Regions from separate parts of the Homo sapiens genome. Here all the other regions are linked to region 3. Evidence: promoter capture Hi-C in 16 types of primary human blood cells and fetal thymus (Javierre and others, 2016). All regions are on one chromosome and are shown on one strand. The core of a region is centred on a gene start or on the middle of the fragment in contact, and the rest is flanking DNA. Distances in the headings are between cores, read along the strand shown.

Region 1 (3,043 bases), core at 343-2,842, 510 kb before region 3:
AAGTGAGATACCACTACACACAAATTAAAATGGCCAAAATCCAAAACATTAGCAACACCAAATGCTGGTGAGGATATGGAGCAACAAAAACTCTCATCTTTTTGGAAATGAAAAATGGTATAGCTACTTTGGAAGACAGTTTGGCAGTTTCTTTATAAGCTTAACATAGTAGGTATTTACCCAGTTAACTTGAAAATTTATGTCTACACAGAAACCCTCACATGACTATTTATAACAGCTTTATTCATGATTGCCAAAAAATGGAAGCAGTTGAGATATCTTTTAATAGGTGAATGGATAAACAGTGGTATATCCATACAATGGCACATTGTATAAAATGAAATAATGAAAAGACATAGCTGTCAAGTCACAAAAAGACATAGATATATCTCAATGTATACCATTGCTAAGTGAAAGATACCAGTATGAAAAGGCCACATACTGTATGATTCCAATTATGTGATATCTGTAAAAGGTAAAACCATAGCAACAATAAAAGTATCAGTGGTTGCCATGGATTCAGGAGTAGGGAGGGAGGATAGAATTGGTGAAACAGTATTTCTTAGGGCAGTAAAACAGTTCTTTATGATTCTGTAATTGTGGCTATATGACACTCTGAATTTGTCAAAAACTGTAGAACTTTACAAAGATTATGGAAGACAATCTGAAGTATATGAAACAATTTCACTAAAGGGGTGTAGGAGAAAGGTAGATTGTGTAAGATTAAAGATAGAGAAAGATATTATCTATAAGCAGTGTACTCTAGTCTTTTCCCATGGGGGTACGAATTAATTCTGATACTGCTGTATGTATAATACATATTAGAATTGAACAGTTAAGTAAGTGAATGGGAAATGATTGGAGCCAGTTAACAGATAAACAAGGAGGAAGAGGTTAGAGTGATTCATGTGATAATGGATTGGAGTTGGAGGCATCAGTATGAACTCATTTTTAGCTTGATATGGATACAGATGGTTATATACAGAAATAGATATACGAGATATCTCGTGTGTATCTCGGGTTATTACAATGTATATCTCGGGTTATTACAGTGACATATTTCCTTGGTCTGTCATCTAAGATGGCCTAGAAGGAACAACACCCCAATAGTAATGTGCATACATAGCATTCATATCTTGGTTTCTAATACCATTCTCCAATAAAAGGAACCAGAGTTCCTTGGAGAAATGGCTAATTCTAAGACTGGGACAGGAAATACACGAAATGAGTCTGGAGTAGCTTGTAGCACTGGAAAGTATAGAGAAGTATTCAAAACACACACAGACACATACACAGAGTAATGGGGGCTATATCAAAGGCACACAGGAGCCAACTGAAAGAGCTCTCAATGGCCAAAGCTAAAACAGTTTGAACAACAAAATAAATGGAATTGGATCATAACCCAGGTATAAGATAAATATCCTTGAGTCTACACGATACAATTAAATGATTGAATAAATAGATGGAAGAAAGAAACAAATCTCCCGTGCAGAATTCCAAATTAATTACATAGATATTCTGCTCTCAAGGATGTAGAATGTGTGTGGGCTACGCATAGTGACTCCTTCCAAAAAGTACAGTTTGTGGAGATTATGTAACTTTATAGTGGAGAAACCTGGTAAACACTGACTAAACCAGCTGTTCAAATTTAACATCAGCAATAATAAGTTGTGTTGGTGGTGTGTAGCTTTGATATGATGTGATAAAAAATGGCACTTTTCCCCTATGATCTTCCAAAAATCCATAACCCCAATATACTCATGAGAAAAATGACAGATCCTAGATCCCAGTTTAGGGGCATTCTACAACATACCAGACCAGTGCTCCTCAAAACTGTCAAGGTCATTAAAACAAGGAAAGTCTGAGAAAGTGTCCAAGCCAAGAGGAGCTTAAAGAGATATTGAAGGGCTAGCGCAGTGGCTCACACCTGTAATCCCAGCGCTTTGAGAGGCCAAGGCAGGCAGATCACTTGAGGCCAGGAGTTGGAGACCAGCCTGGCCAACACAGTGAAATCCTGTCTCTACTAAAAATACACAGAATCAGCCAGGCGTGGTGGCGCATGCCTGTAATCCCAGCTACTCAGGAGGCTGAGGCATGAGAATCTCTTGAACCTGGGAGGTGGAAGTTGCAGTGAGCCGAGATTGTGCCACTGTACTCCAATCTGGGCGACAGAGTGAGACTTTGTCTCAACTTTGAAAAAAAAAAGAGGGAGAGACATGGAGGGAGAGAGGGAGGCCAAGGTGGGTGGATGGCTTGAGCCCAGGAATTCGAGGCCAGTCTGGGCAATGTAGTGGGACCTCCATCTCTACAATAAAATACAAAATTAGCTGGGTGTGGTGGCGTGAGCCCAGATGCTGCCACGGCACTCCAGCCTGAGTGACAGAGCGAGACTCTTTCTCTGAAGACTAAGTGTAATATGGTATCCTGGATGGGATCCTGAAACTGAGAAAGAACATTAGGTGAAAACTAATATCTGATTAACATGGATTTTAGTTGTTAATTATGAATATGTTGATATTGGCTCATTAATTTTAACAAATGTACCATACCAGTGTAAGATGTTAATAATAGGGGAAATTGTTAGTCGAGTGTGGTGGCTTGCTCCTGTAGTCCCAGCTACTTGGGAGGCTGAGGCAGAAGAATCGCTGGAACCCAGGAGGCGGAGGTTGCAGTGAGCCGAGATGGTGCCACTGCACTCCAGCCTGGGTGACAGAGGGAGACTCCGTCTCAAAAATAATAATAATAATAATAGGGGAAACTGAATACAGGATAATGAGAATTCTGTGTACTATCTTTGCCATTTTTCTGTAAATCTAAAACTGTTCTACAAAATAAAGTTTACTAGGCAAAATGGGCAAAGGATCTGAATAGATATTCTTCCAGAGAAGATATACAAATGGATAATAAGCATATGAAAGGATGGTCAACATCATTAGCTATCAGGGAAATACAAATCAAAACCACAGGGAAGTGGGAGGAAGGTAGATGGGAAGAAGAGATAATTATCAAAGAATACAAAGCTTCAGTTAGACTGGAGGAATGC
Region 2 (2,806 bases), core at 241-2,740, 330 kb before region 3:
AGAGATCAGATGTGATTATATTCTGCATGCCCAAAAGGAAGAAAGCAGGACCAGTGGGTAGAAACTGTAGGGTCTAACATATAAAAGAACATTTTAAGTTGATAGTGCTGCCTTAGGAAATATTGAAGCCTTCCTCAATGAAAGAATTCAAACATGTTAGATTTTGTGACCTTTCACAGTTCTTTCTAAAGTTGAGGGGTTTTTTTTGTTTGTTTGTTTCAGGGTACTACACCTGGTTATGCCATATTGGTAGCTCTTATTTTGCAGTTTGGTTACACCAAGATTTTGCCATATATCATGTTTCCACTGTATAAGAATATTGGGGGCCGGGCCTGGTAGCTCACGCCTATAATCCTAGTACTTTGGGTGGCCGAGGTGGGCAGATCACCTGAGGTCAGAGGTTGGAGACCAGCCTGACCAATACAGTGAAACCCCATCCCTACTAAAAATACAAAAATTAGCTGGGCATGGTGGTGCATGCCTGTAATCCCAGCTACTTGGGAGGCTGAGGCCGGAGAATCACTTGAACCCAGGAGGTGGAGGTTGCAGTGAGCTGAGATCACGCCACCGCACTCCAGCCTGGGCGACAGAGTGAGACTCCATCTCAAAAAAAAAAAAGGCCAATTATTTTGATAAGCCCTGTTAATCATTAGGGAGACTATTCCCTCTATGTTTTTTTTTGCAAGTATTACATTGGCTCGTCTTATTTTTAATGAACTAATTTTGAGAAGATGGAATTTAGAAGTAAATGTACTTTTGAATTTAAGGAGCCTGTTTACTTTCTTTGTAGATTGTGTCAAAATCTCAATTGCCATCTGAGAATAGAGAAGGTAAAGTGCTGTGGACTGGCTGGTTCTGCTGTGTATTTGGAGACAGTCTTCTGGAGACTGTTTCAGAAGATTTCACCTGTCTGCCCTTATTCCTTGCAAATGGAGCAGAGTCTAACACAGCAATAATTGGAACTTGGTTTCAGAAAACCTTTGACTGTTATTTCAGTCCTTTAGCAATCAATGCATTTAATCTTTCCTGGATGGCTGCCATGTGGACTGCATGCAAAATGGACCATTATGTGGCTACTACTGAATTTCTTTGGTCTGTACCCTGTAGCCCTCAAAGTCTGGACATTTCTTTCGCAATACATCCAGAGGATGCAAAAGCTCTATGGGACAGTGTCCACAAAACACCTGGGGAGGTTACCCAGGAAGAAGTTGACCTATTCATGGATTGCCTTTATTCACATTTCCATAGACATTTCAAAATTCATTTATCAGCCACAAGATTAGTTCGTGTTTCAACATCTGTAGCTTCAGCACATACTGATGGAAAAATAAAGGTTAGTTTGAACAATCTAGTTAAGTAATTTTTCCTTGTTTTATGGTTTTAAAAATGTATGATGATTGTATTGTCCACTCAATTGAAGAAACACACTTGAATGTATTCAAGACAATAGAGAGCTTTTATTTTATGGTTTATGGTTTATTGCAGTCTTTAGCCTTCTAGATATAGCCTTATAATGGAAGGACACTATATGCTGTGTGCTTCAGCTTTTGGTAATAATGTGAATTATTATTTTGTAGTAACTTTGAAACTTTCAGAATTGTTCCTTGTGAAATTTTGAAATAATTATCAGAGTAATAGAGAATTTTGTGTTAGACAAAATTATAGCCAGAAACACAGAACTAAGATGTCATCTTTATGTTCCAGGCTTTTCTGTCCTCATTGGGAAAGAAATAATAGAGACATTGTTTTATTCTCTACAGAGTGATTTCTGATAAGAAGTATCAGAAATAGGCCAGGCATGGTGGCTCACGCCTGTAATCCCAGCACTTTGGGAGGCCGAGGCGGGCGGATCATGAGGTCAGGAGATTGAGACCATGCTGGCTAACACGGTGAAACCCCGTCTCCACTAAAAATACAAAAAATTAGCCAGGCGTGGTGGTGGGCATCTGTAGTCCCAGCTACTGGGGGAGGCTGAGGCAGGAGAATGGTGTGAACCCGAGAGGCGGAGCTTGTAGTGAGCCGAGATCGCGCCACTGCACTCCAGCCTGGGTGACAGAGCGAGACTCCGTCTCAAAAGAAAAAAAAAAAGTATCAGAAATAAACTGAGAATTGGCTCCTAAAATATATTAAAATACACAGCCACAATGTACATTCAGTAAATGTTTCCTGTGATCTTGTTACTGTGCTAAGAGTTTAACAGACTTAAATTCTAATCTTTAGAGCAACCCTGTAGTTAGGTGTTTTTTCTGTGTGTGCTTTTTGTTTTTTTTTTTGAGACAGAATCTCACCCCATCACCCAGGCTGGAGTGCAGTGGTGCTATCTCAGCTAACTACAACCTCTGCCTCCTAGGCTCAAGCGATTCTCGTGCCTCAGCCTCCTGAGTAGCTGGGACTACAAGCATGAGCCACTACACCTGGCTAATTTTTGTAATTTTACTTTTTTTACTATTTTTATCTTTATTTATTTATTTATTTTGAGACGGAGTCTTACTCTGTCACCCAGGCTGGGGTGCAGTGGTGCAATCTCAACTCACTGCAACTTCCGCCTCCTGGGTTTAAGTGATTCTCCTGCCTCAGTCTCCCGAGTAGCTGGGACTACAGGTGCCTGCCACCATGCCCAGCTATTTTTGTATTTTTAGTAGAGATGAGGTTTCACCATGTTGGCCAGGCTGGTCTTGAACTCCTGACCTCAAATGATCCACTTGCCTTGGCCTCCTAAAGTGTTGGGATTACAGGCATGAGCCACCATGCCTGGCTAGTTAGATTTTTTTTTTTTTCCTTCGAGATGGAGTCTTGTTTTGTTGCC
Region 3 (2,815 bases), core at 210-2,709:
AAAGGGTTGGATAGGCATATGATGTGTAAGAATCTGTCCCTGGTTCTCTGCACAGCCCTGTCCAATCACTGATTAATTTCATAAGCCTGTCTCCCTGGATACTGTATATAAAAAGGATATAATCTGGGGAAGAACTGTTGTCAAGCCTTGGAGCCCCACAGTGTAGTGGGACCACTAGTACTCCAGAACCATAATATAACTAGACATGCCTGGAATGCTTCTGATGAAAACTAAGCAACTTCCAGTTTGCTGATTCAGGAGCTGTTAAAAAAAAAAAAGGGCAACACCGATTTACTACTCCTATCCATAATGGTAAAACTGCCAAGTCAGATCACAGGTCATCAATTTGGCTATCATCAGCAAGCTCATGTGCTAGAAGCAAGGTAGAAAGCGGAGGGGACAGTGAGGGGCAAGCCACTGGAAAACAAGAGAGTCTCAAAGTTGGGGAGTACACGTGTCCTGGAGCCTGGAACGGCCATCACTAGCAAGAATAGGCCACTCCAGCGGAACAGCGTCAGAAAGTCCTTCCCTCCAAGTGTTGCAAGTTCTGGAATCTCTGAAGGCACACCTACGCAGAGTGTTCTTGGCTCTTCCTAAAGCTGTTATCAAATCATATCTTGGCCATTGGAGGCGGCTCTGGACAAAAAGTCTTTCGGCCACCTACTTGGCAGCTAGTGGTTTTAAATTTCACATTTTGTGCCCAGAAGCCTGCAAATACCACTGCACCCTCAGATGATACGTTGGCCTTCCTGTAACCTATAGCCAGCAGCTGTGTCCTCCGACTTTGGCTTTAGACACCCATCCTCCCCAGGGAGCAAATTCCAGAACGGAGGGTGGGAGGGCGGTGCGACCCTGGGCACTAGTCCGGGGAAGTGATCGTCAATGCCGCCCCGCCCCTGCGCCCTCGGCCTGACCACGCTACCTGCACAGTTTACTAAGACGAGTTAAATGGACAACAAACCCTCCCGCGGGCGGTGAGTTTCCAGAACCCGCAGAACACAATTTTATCCTCCCCACCCCCCACCTTGGCGTGGCCTTGCCCAGCCACGCCGGAGGCGGGGAGGCCAGGAGGGATCGAGTGGCCCGCGCAGGGCAGGCCGAACGGGTGCCAGCTCCCAGCAGCGCAGCCGACGCTGAGCAGAGGCCACACGGCCTGGCGCGCGCCGGAACCAGTGCGGGGGAAGGCGAGGGCGGCGCAGGGGGCTGAGCGGCCGGGAGGACGGCAGGGAGAAGAAACAGGGAAGGCACCTCCGAGTCCGGCGCAACCGAGGCCAGGACAGGGCTACGCGGTGGCCACTTACGAGTCTCCCAGAAAGTCGTGGAAACGGATGCGGCCGACGGTGGTATTGGCCTCAAAGTTGGGAGCCACGTCCCCGAGAAGCAGACCTCCGGGCATGGCGACGGTGATGAGGGGGCGCCGCTGGGACAGCAAGCAACCGGTTGGTTCTGGCGAAGAAGCAGCCTGTCCCAGCGCGCGGAGGAATAAACGAAGGCGCGAGGGGCGGGGACTGGGGCGGCGGGGGCGGGGCCGCGGGAGGCCGGCCGCTGGGGGCCGGGCCGCGGGGGCTGGGCTGGGCGCGGGGCGGGGCGGGGCTGGGCGCGGGGCGGGGCTGGGCCGGGCCGGGCTGGGGCCGGGACGCGGCGCGAGCTGGACTACCGCGGTCGCTGTTGGTGGCGCCGCCGGGCCTGCGACTAGGTGGCATCCTTCAGACACTATAGGCCGTCTCTGCACACGTGATGCGGGGCTCGGTCACGTTGCCCCCTGGAAGCTTGAGGATGCGCCAGGTTTGACTCTGCAGGGCGTACGCGCTTTAGGGATGGAAGGAAGAGGAACGCGGCAGGAAGGCGAGCCCCAAGGTGGAGAATCGCCTGGGCGCGCAGGCTGCGGCGGCTTCGCACAGCCGCCCTGGGCGCTGCACGGGTCCGCGCGCACCCTGCTGCGCACCCACTCGCGGCCAGCTCCCTACAGAGGAGTGGAGTGACTGCTCGACTACCACCCCTCTTTTAGTGTGAGCGTCTGGAGTCCTGACCGCCCCAGCCAGCCCAGCTACGATGAACTGTCTAAGAGGATGTGGCAAGACCCAGAAGTATGGGTGACCTTATGTCAGAGGAAGTGGCTTTCTTATTGCAGCAAAAATTCCCGTACCAATGTCAGTGCTAGGGTAATGTAACTAAACTTTTATTTATTTTTATTCTGCCCTCCCCTTTCTGTTTGTTATGAACCATAAAATATTCAACACAATTATCTTGAAATCTAAATATAAAATTTAAAACATACTCTTTGAGACCTACTGTGTGCAGGTCAACTCTGTCACCCAGGGAGGTGGGCGGCTTAGATTCATTTATTTGCTATGAGCCAAGTACAAGGTAGATAAGATGCCTGTCCTCTTGGAGCTTTCCTTCTTGTGAAGGGAAACCGGTGACAGACAATAAGCACACAAACCAAAATATGTTAGACAGCAATCAGTCGTATTCAGAGAACTAAAATAGGGTTATGTGCCTAGAGGGTGACTGGGGGGCTGCTTTGGTTTGGGTGGTCTGGTCTGGGAAAGCCACCAGGATAATGTAGGTAAACTAGTCAGCTCACGGTAGGTGCTCTGGAAATGGTAGCTATCGTTTGGATGATGACACTGGCTCATGCAGTAACTCTTGCTTTGCCTGCTGTGTGCTGGACACTGTGCCAGGCCATACAGTGGAGAAACACAGTCCCTGCTGTTACAGGGAAGGCATATTTATATGCAATTATAATAAAATGTAGGGTAAATTCTGATGGGGGAAGGTGTAAATGATTGGAGTTCAGAGATGAGAAAAATCC
Region 4 (3,171 bases), core at 182-2,681, 370 kb before region 3:
GTAGAGACGGGGTTTCACTATGTTGGCCAGGCTGGTCTCAAACTCCTGACTTCAAGCGATCTGCCCGCCTTGGCCTCCCAAAGTGCTGGGATTACAGGCGTGAGTCACTGCACCCGGCCCCAACCAGCTTTTAAAATGCCCCTTTCTTGAATATGTACAGATAACCAACAATCACTGTACATTGAAGAAACTCTGCAGCATTAAAAAAAAAAAAAAGACCAAGATAAACCCAAAAAATTAGCCCCAGAGAAAACATAAGTTATGGACCAAAAGAGAACTTGAATCCTCAAAGGTACTCAAAAATATATTTTATGAATAAAACCAGAATAAGATGCAGTGAAAAAAGCTACTGGGAAATAAAAAAAAATTCAACAGAAGAGTTGAAGAAATCCCCAGGAAAATAGAACAAGACAAAGAAAATGGTGAAAAATGACATGCAAAAGAAAAGAGGTTAAATTGGTTTGACATACAACTAGTAGAAATTCCAAAGAGAGACTAGAAAAAATGATGAGGTCAAAATCATTAGATAATAAAATAATTTTCTACACATAAAAAGACATAAACCTTCGTATTGAAAGGGCTCTTCAAGTGTGTAACACATTAAATGAAAAATGATCAAAAGGCAAACAAACTCTGAAATTTCAGAACATAAAGAATCAGAAGGCAAAAAGCTTCCAATGAGAAAAAACCAGCTCTGCTATAATGGAATAAATTCACACAAGCATCAAAGCATCAGACTTCTCATCAGTAACAACAGATGGGAGAAGAAAGTAAAGCAATGCCTTAAATGTTCTAAAGCTGTGCTGTCTAGCAATGCACTGTTGCTATTTACATTTAAATTAATTAAAATGAAATAAAGTAAAAAGTTCAGCCCTTTAGTTGTACTATCCTATTTCAAGTGTTCACTAGCGACATTGGCTAGCAACAACTACACCGAACAATGCAGACATAAAACGTTTCCATCATTACAGAAAGTTTTATTGGACAGCACTCTTCTAAGATGATATGGCTGTCAATTCAAAATTTTGTACTAAGCCAAATTATTATTGATCAAGTGTGAGGTTTTAAACATAAAGACATTTTGTAAGAACTCAGTAAGTTGATCTCTCACATGCTTTCTTAGGAAGTTACTTGATTACATACTCCAACACAAAAAAGAAAGAGGAAAACCTGGGATCCAGGATGGGTGGCTTCAACTCAGAAAAGAATGAAGAAAAGGGCCGGGCACGGTGGCTCACGCCTGTAATCCCACCACTTTGGGAGGCCGAGGTGGGCGGATCACGAGGTCAGGAGATGGAGACCATCCTGGCTAACACAGCGAAACCCCATCTCTAGTAAAAATACAAAAAAATTAGCCGGGCGTGGTCGCGGGCGCCTGTAGTCCCAGCTAGTCAGGAGGCTGAGGCAGAAGAACGGCGTGAACCTGGGAGGCGGAGCTTGCAGTGAGCCGAGATGGCACCACTGCACTCCAGCCTGGGCGACAGAGTGAGACTCCCGTCTCAAAAAAAAAAAAAAAAAAAAAAAAAGGTTCAGAAAGACAGCTGTGCAGAAGGTACAGAGTAACTAGGTGAGGTCTGTATATGTGAGCCTCATCTCTCATGACAGGAAGTTAACAAGGTTTAAATGAATTAAGTAAAAAGAAAAAAAAAGTATGTAGAGATATTTCCAAAAACAGAGATACTCTGGCAGAATACTAGGATGGATGGGGCAGGCTAGAGCAAATGATTATTGCATTTCATCATTAATGGTTCTTTATTTTTTGAACCATGTGTATGCCATATGTTGCTAAAAACACATAAGATCTTCTGAAAGCAATTAGAAGCCAAATCAAGTTAAAACACTCATAAAAAATAGTAGTAGTAATACCCATTTCTTATATAAAAGTTCAGGAAATTAGGAAAGAAAAAGAAAACAGGAGAAGAGAGAGAAGAATGAAAGAAGAAAATGTAATAATAGTCCCATCAACTGAAAGCTGCCAAAGTTAACCTTCAGGCTTATTTCCTGGTCCTATGGTTCTTAGATGCAGATTTTATATACTAATAAAATAAAAATAAACAAAATTGGAAGATAAAGGGTTGCCAATTTTTAATTTTATAAAGAAAAGACATATTTCATCCCCCCGCCATCCCCACCGCCGACAGAGAAAAAAAGGATAGTTCTTTAAATTTGTTTAACTTTATGAAAAGCTTGTTATATTGCCCTGACTTTTCTGATTTTGTCTCAACCCATTTTGGGAACCACTAACCTGATCTTTTTTTCTTATATAAAAATCTACTTATTGTTCGTTGTGCTTGAGGTATGAGGCTTGGGAAATAGTGGTAGTAGAGGTAGGTAGTCCATTTTCAATATACAAATATAGTGTTTTTACATGGTTATAATCAGTATAAATATAGTCCTATAGCCTCCTTTTCTTACATATCATTATAAGAGCATTTTTCCTCTATTAAGTCTTAGAAAACAAGATTTTAAATAGGAACTTTAATATTAATTCCTTTGATTATAGCATAATTTAATTACTCCTATATGGTTTCATTTTATTCCTGTTATCATACCTAAGATTCTTTCCTTTTTTTTTGAGACAGGGTCTCACTGTGTCACCCAGGCTGGAGTGCGGTGGGGTGAACACAGCTCACTGCAGCCTCGATCTCCTGGGCTCAAGTGATCCTCCCACCTCAGCCTCTCAAGTAGTTGGGATGACAGGTGTGTGCCACCATGCCCAGCTAATTTTTTTTCTGTTTTTTGTAGAGACGAGGTCTCACTATGTTGCCCAGGCTGGTCTCAAACTTCTGGGCTCCAGTGATACTCCCACCTTGGGCTCCCAAAGTGCTGGGATTACAGGTATGCGCTTCCGTGCCTGGCTGGATCCTTTATTTTTTTTAGAGACAGGGTCTCACTCTGTCACCCAGGCAAGAATGCAGTGGCATAATCATAGCTCACTGCAGCCTTGAACTCCTGGGCTTGTGATTCTCCTGCCTCAGTCTCCCAAGCAGCTGGGACTACAGACATGTGCCACTATGCCCAGCTAATATTTATTTATTTAGAGACTGAGTCTTGCTCTGTGGCCCAGGCAGTAGTGCAGTGGCGTGATCTCAGCTCACTGCAACCTCCACCTCCTGTGTTCAAGCGATTCTCCTGCATCAGCCTCTCAAAGTAGCTGGGATTACAAGTGAG
Region 5 (2,893 bases), core at 241-2,740, 400 kb before region 3:
AGGCAGGAGAACCGTTTGAACCCAGGAGGCAGAGATTGCAGCGAGCCGAGATCACACCACTGCACTCCAGCCTGGGTGACAGAGCAAGACTGCCTCAAAAAAAAAAAAAAATATATATATATATGCACACATATATATATAAATAAAATGCTACAAATTAGTAACTTCATAACTGTGTGTGTGTGTATACTACGCATAGTATATATAGTATATATAGTGTGTGCATACTATAGTATACATAGTGTGTGTATACTACATATAGTATATACAGTACACACGTGCACACACACACACACACACACACACACACACACACACACACACATAATAATCAGACTTTCGATTCCAGGTCCTAAATTACCTGCAAATTACCTGTATGTGGTTTTCTGGGATTATTTTTTATTACTATCAGGTCTACAGTGTGGTTATTATAATCAGGAAAGAGTTCCACAATCTTACTTTTTTATATTTCCCAAACTCTGCTGACATCGAAAGTGTATTTTCCTGCACGCCCACAAGCAAGAATTTTAAAAAAAAAGTAATCAAATACAGTATTTAACTTTGCATTTTTTACATAACAAGTCAGGCTGTCTACTAATAACAAAAGTTCTATTTCTTGCTTTGTCATCCTTATGCTATAAATTTGTATTTCTTGCTTTATTGCATTGACTAGGACTACAAATAAAAAGCTGGGTAGAAGTGGTGGTAGCAGACATTCTGTCTCATTCCCAATCACACGAAGGAAGCTTTCAATAATTTACTATTAAGATGTTTTCTGGGCTGGGTGCAGTGGCTGGGTGCAGTGGCTCACACCTGTAATCCCAGCATTTTGGGAGGCCGAGGCAGGCGGATCATGAGGTCAGGAGATCGAAACCACCCTGGCTAACACGGTGAAACCCCGTCTCTACTCAAAAATACAAATAATTAGCCGGGCGTGGTGGCAGGTGCCTGTAGTCCCAGCTACTTGGGAGGCTGAGGCAGGAGAATGGCGTGAACCCGGGAGGTGGAGCTTGCAGTGAGCCGAGATTGCACCACTGCACTCCATGCACTCCAGCCTGGGCGACAGGGTGAGACTCGAGACTCCGTCTCAAAAAAAAAAAAAAGATGTTTTCTATAGATTTTTTAGATAGATACTTTCAATCAGATTAAGAAAGTTCCCTTGTATTTCTTTTTTTTTTTTTTTTTTGAGACGGAGTTTCACTCTTGTGGCCCAGGCTGGAGTGCAATGGTGTGATCTCGGCTCACAGCAACCTCCGCCTCCCGGGTTCAAGCCATTGTCCTGCCTCAGCCTCTGGAGTAGTTGGGATCACGGGCACGTGCCACCATGCCTGGGTAATTTTGTATTTTTAGTAGAGACGGGTTTTCTCCATGTTGGTCAAGCTGGTCTCGAACTCCGGACCTCAGGTGATCCACCTGCCTCGGCCTCCCAAAGTGCTGGGATTACAGGCGCGAGCCACTGCGCCCGGCCAGTTCCCTTGTATTTCTAGTTTGCTAAGAGTTTTAGCCAATTGTTCTTTTCTGTATTTATCAAAATTGCCACATGTAATTTATCACTTTTTCCTTATTAATGAAACAGATTACAATGATTAATTTTAAAATGTTAAACCAGCTATCAGTGTTAATTTGTTAATGTTCTTTTCAAAATATTTGCATCTATGCTTGGTAGAAATACCAGTCTGCAATTTTCCTTTCTGGTGATGTCTCTGTATAATTTTAATATTAAACTTCTGCTACCCTCAGGGAAAAAAAATACAGTATTTCTTTAACAGGGCCATTGTTACCTCTCCTACATCTTTTCTTTTTCATTATTTTCTATTCATACACAGTAGCAATTCCTCCAACCACCAAAGCAGTTCTAAATCCACAACTCCATACCTGGGAGCTGGGTTGCTTAGGCTCATCCATTCTCCCAGGAGACTCACTTCTGGCTCTGTGTCTCTCTGTCAAGGGAACAACACTGCCGGAGGGGCTAAATCTGTTGGAAGAGGAACATAAAGGGGACTAATACAAAAGCAGCATCAAAGAACCTGAAAAATGGTGATGTCGCCCCTCTTTATTCTATGGCTGAGGAAGGGGGAACAAACCAAGCAACAAATAACTGAGGAATAGTTTTGTGGAGTTAATACATAATCTGATTTGAAATAATAGGTTAGCCCTAGTAAATTTAATAAACACAAAATGACATAACAGATAGAACATATGAGCTGGTGAAGCTAAAGCTAAATATAAGCTTTCTTCCTTATATAAATACTGGGAGACCATAAAAGAATAAATTAAAACGGGGCCTATAATTTTGTTTCTTCTACGTAATTACCAGGTTTTTGGCTGTTTCTTCCCCAAGGTCCCATAATAATCTGTATTTTAGACTATTGATATAGATCATGGAGATTAAAAAATCTTTGCATTGAAATTGATATTACTTTTTTTTTTTTTTTGAGACAGAGTCTTGCTCTGTTGCCCAGGCTGGAGTACAGTGGCGTGATCCCAGCTAACTGCAACCTCCACTTCCTGGGTTCAAGCGATTCTCCTGCCTCAGCTGGCCCAGTAGCTGAGACTACAGGTGCGTGCCACCACGCTCAGCTAATTTTTGTATTTTTAGTAGAGATGGGATTCACCATGTTGGCCAGGCTGGTCTCAAAGTCCTGGCCTCAAGTGATCCACCTGCCTCAGCCTCCCAAAGTGCTGGGATCACAGGTGTGAGCCACCACACCTGGCCCTGATATTACTTCTGATAGTTTTTTTTAAAATTTTATTTCCATAAGTTATCATGGAACAGGTGGTATCTGGTTACATAAGTAAGTTCTTTGGTGATTTGTGAGATTTTGGTGCACCCATCACCCGAGAACTTCTGATACAGTTCTAACATAGGAGGACAAGTTCTATGCTCAAGATT

What was found. Contacts are between HindIII fragments. The CHiCAGO score rates a contact against its expected background, and 5 or more counts as called.
Region 1: a contact is called between a fragment that was not itself captured here and the fragment with the promoter of PRDX6 in region 3, in 2 of 17 cell types (neutrophils and monocytes). The highest score is 5.7, in neutrophils.
Region 2: a fragment that was not itself captured here is called in contact with the fragment with the promoter of PRDX6 in region 3 in 1 of 17 cell types (megakaryocytes); the score reaches 5.6 in megakaryocytes.
Region 4: a fragment that was not itself captured here is called in contact with the fragment with the promoter of PRDX6 in region 3 in 7 of 17 cell types (megakaryocytes, erythroblasts, fetal thymus and 4 more); the score reaches 9.6 in megakaryocytes.
Region 5: a fragment that was not itself captured here is called in contact with the fragment with the promoter of PRDX6 in region 3 in 2 of 17 cell types (neutrophils and fetal thymus); the score reaches 8.1 in neutrophils.

What each region holds. Positions count from the first base shown.
Region 1 is chr1:173,985,726-173,988,768 of GRCh38, reverse strand. The region is part of intron 2 of RC3H1 (ring finger and CCCH-type domains 1); the gene reads left to right. Among named protein-coding and RNA genes, the nearest start is that of RC3H1, 35 kb to the left of the region's middle. The HindIII fragment of the contact is 2,861 bases long and covers 162-3,022 here.
Region 2 is chr1:173,801,490-173,804,295 of GRCh38, reverse strand. CENPL (centromere protein L) reads left to right here. Exons shown (of 6, transcript NM_001387287.1): 5 at 791-1,333. Among named protein-coding and RNA genes, the nearest start is that of DARS2, 22 kb to the left of the region's middle. The HindIII fragment of the contact is 4,338 bases long and covers 1-2,806 here.
Region 3 is chr1:173,475,979-173,478,793 of GRCh38, reverse strand. PRDX6 (peroxiredoxin 6) reads right to left here and starts at 1,459. Exons shown (of 5, transcript NM_004905.3): 1 at 1,302-1,459. The coding sequence starts at 1,396. LOC100506023 (a long non-coding RNA gene) reads left to right here and starts at 1,639. Exons shown (of 3, transcript NR_037845.1): 1 at 1,639-2,162. RefSeq lists enhancers at 1,261-1,420, 1,918-2,454 and a silencer at 1,491-1,660. The HindIII fragment of the contact is 1,817 bases long and covers 1-1,771 here.
Region 4 is chr1:173,846,200-173,849,370 of GRCh38, reverse strand. All of the region lies in intron 12 of DARS2 (aspartyl-tRNA synthetase 2, mitochondrial), which reads right to left. Among named protein-coding and RNA genes, the nearest start is that of GAS5-AS1, 15 kb to the left of the region's middle. The HindIII fragment of the contact is 1,515 bases long and covers 674-2,188 here.
Region 5 is chr1:173,872,549-173,875,441 of GRCh38, reverse strand. It overlaps ZBTB37 (zinc finger and BTB domain containing 37), which reads right to left. Exons shown (of 5, transcript NM_001122770.3): 4 at 1,876-1,975. Among named protein-coding and RNA genes, the nearest start is that of ZBTB37, 5.6 kb to the right of the region's middle. The HindIII fragment of the contact is 1,484 bases long and covers 749-2,232 here.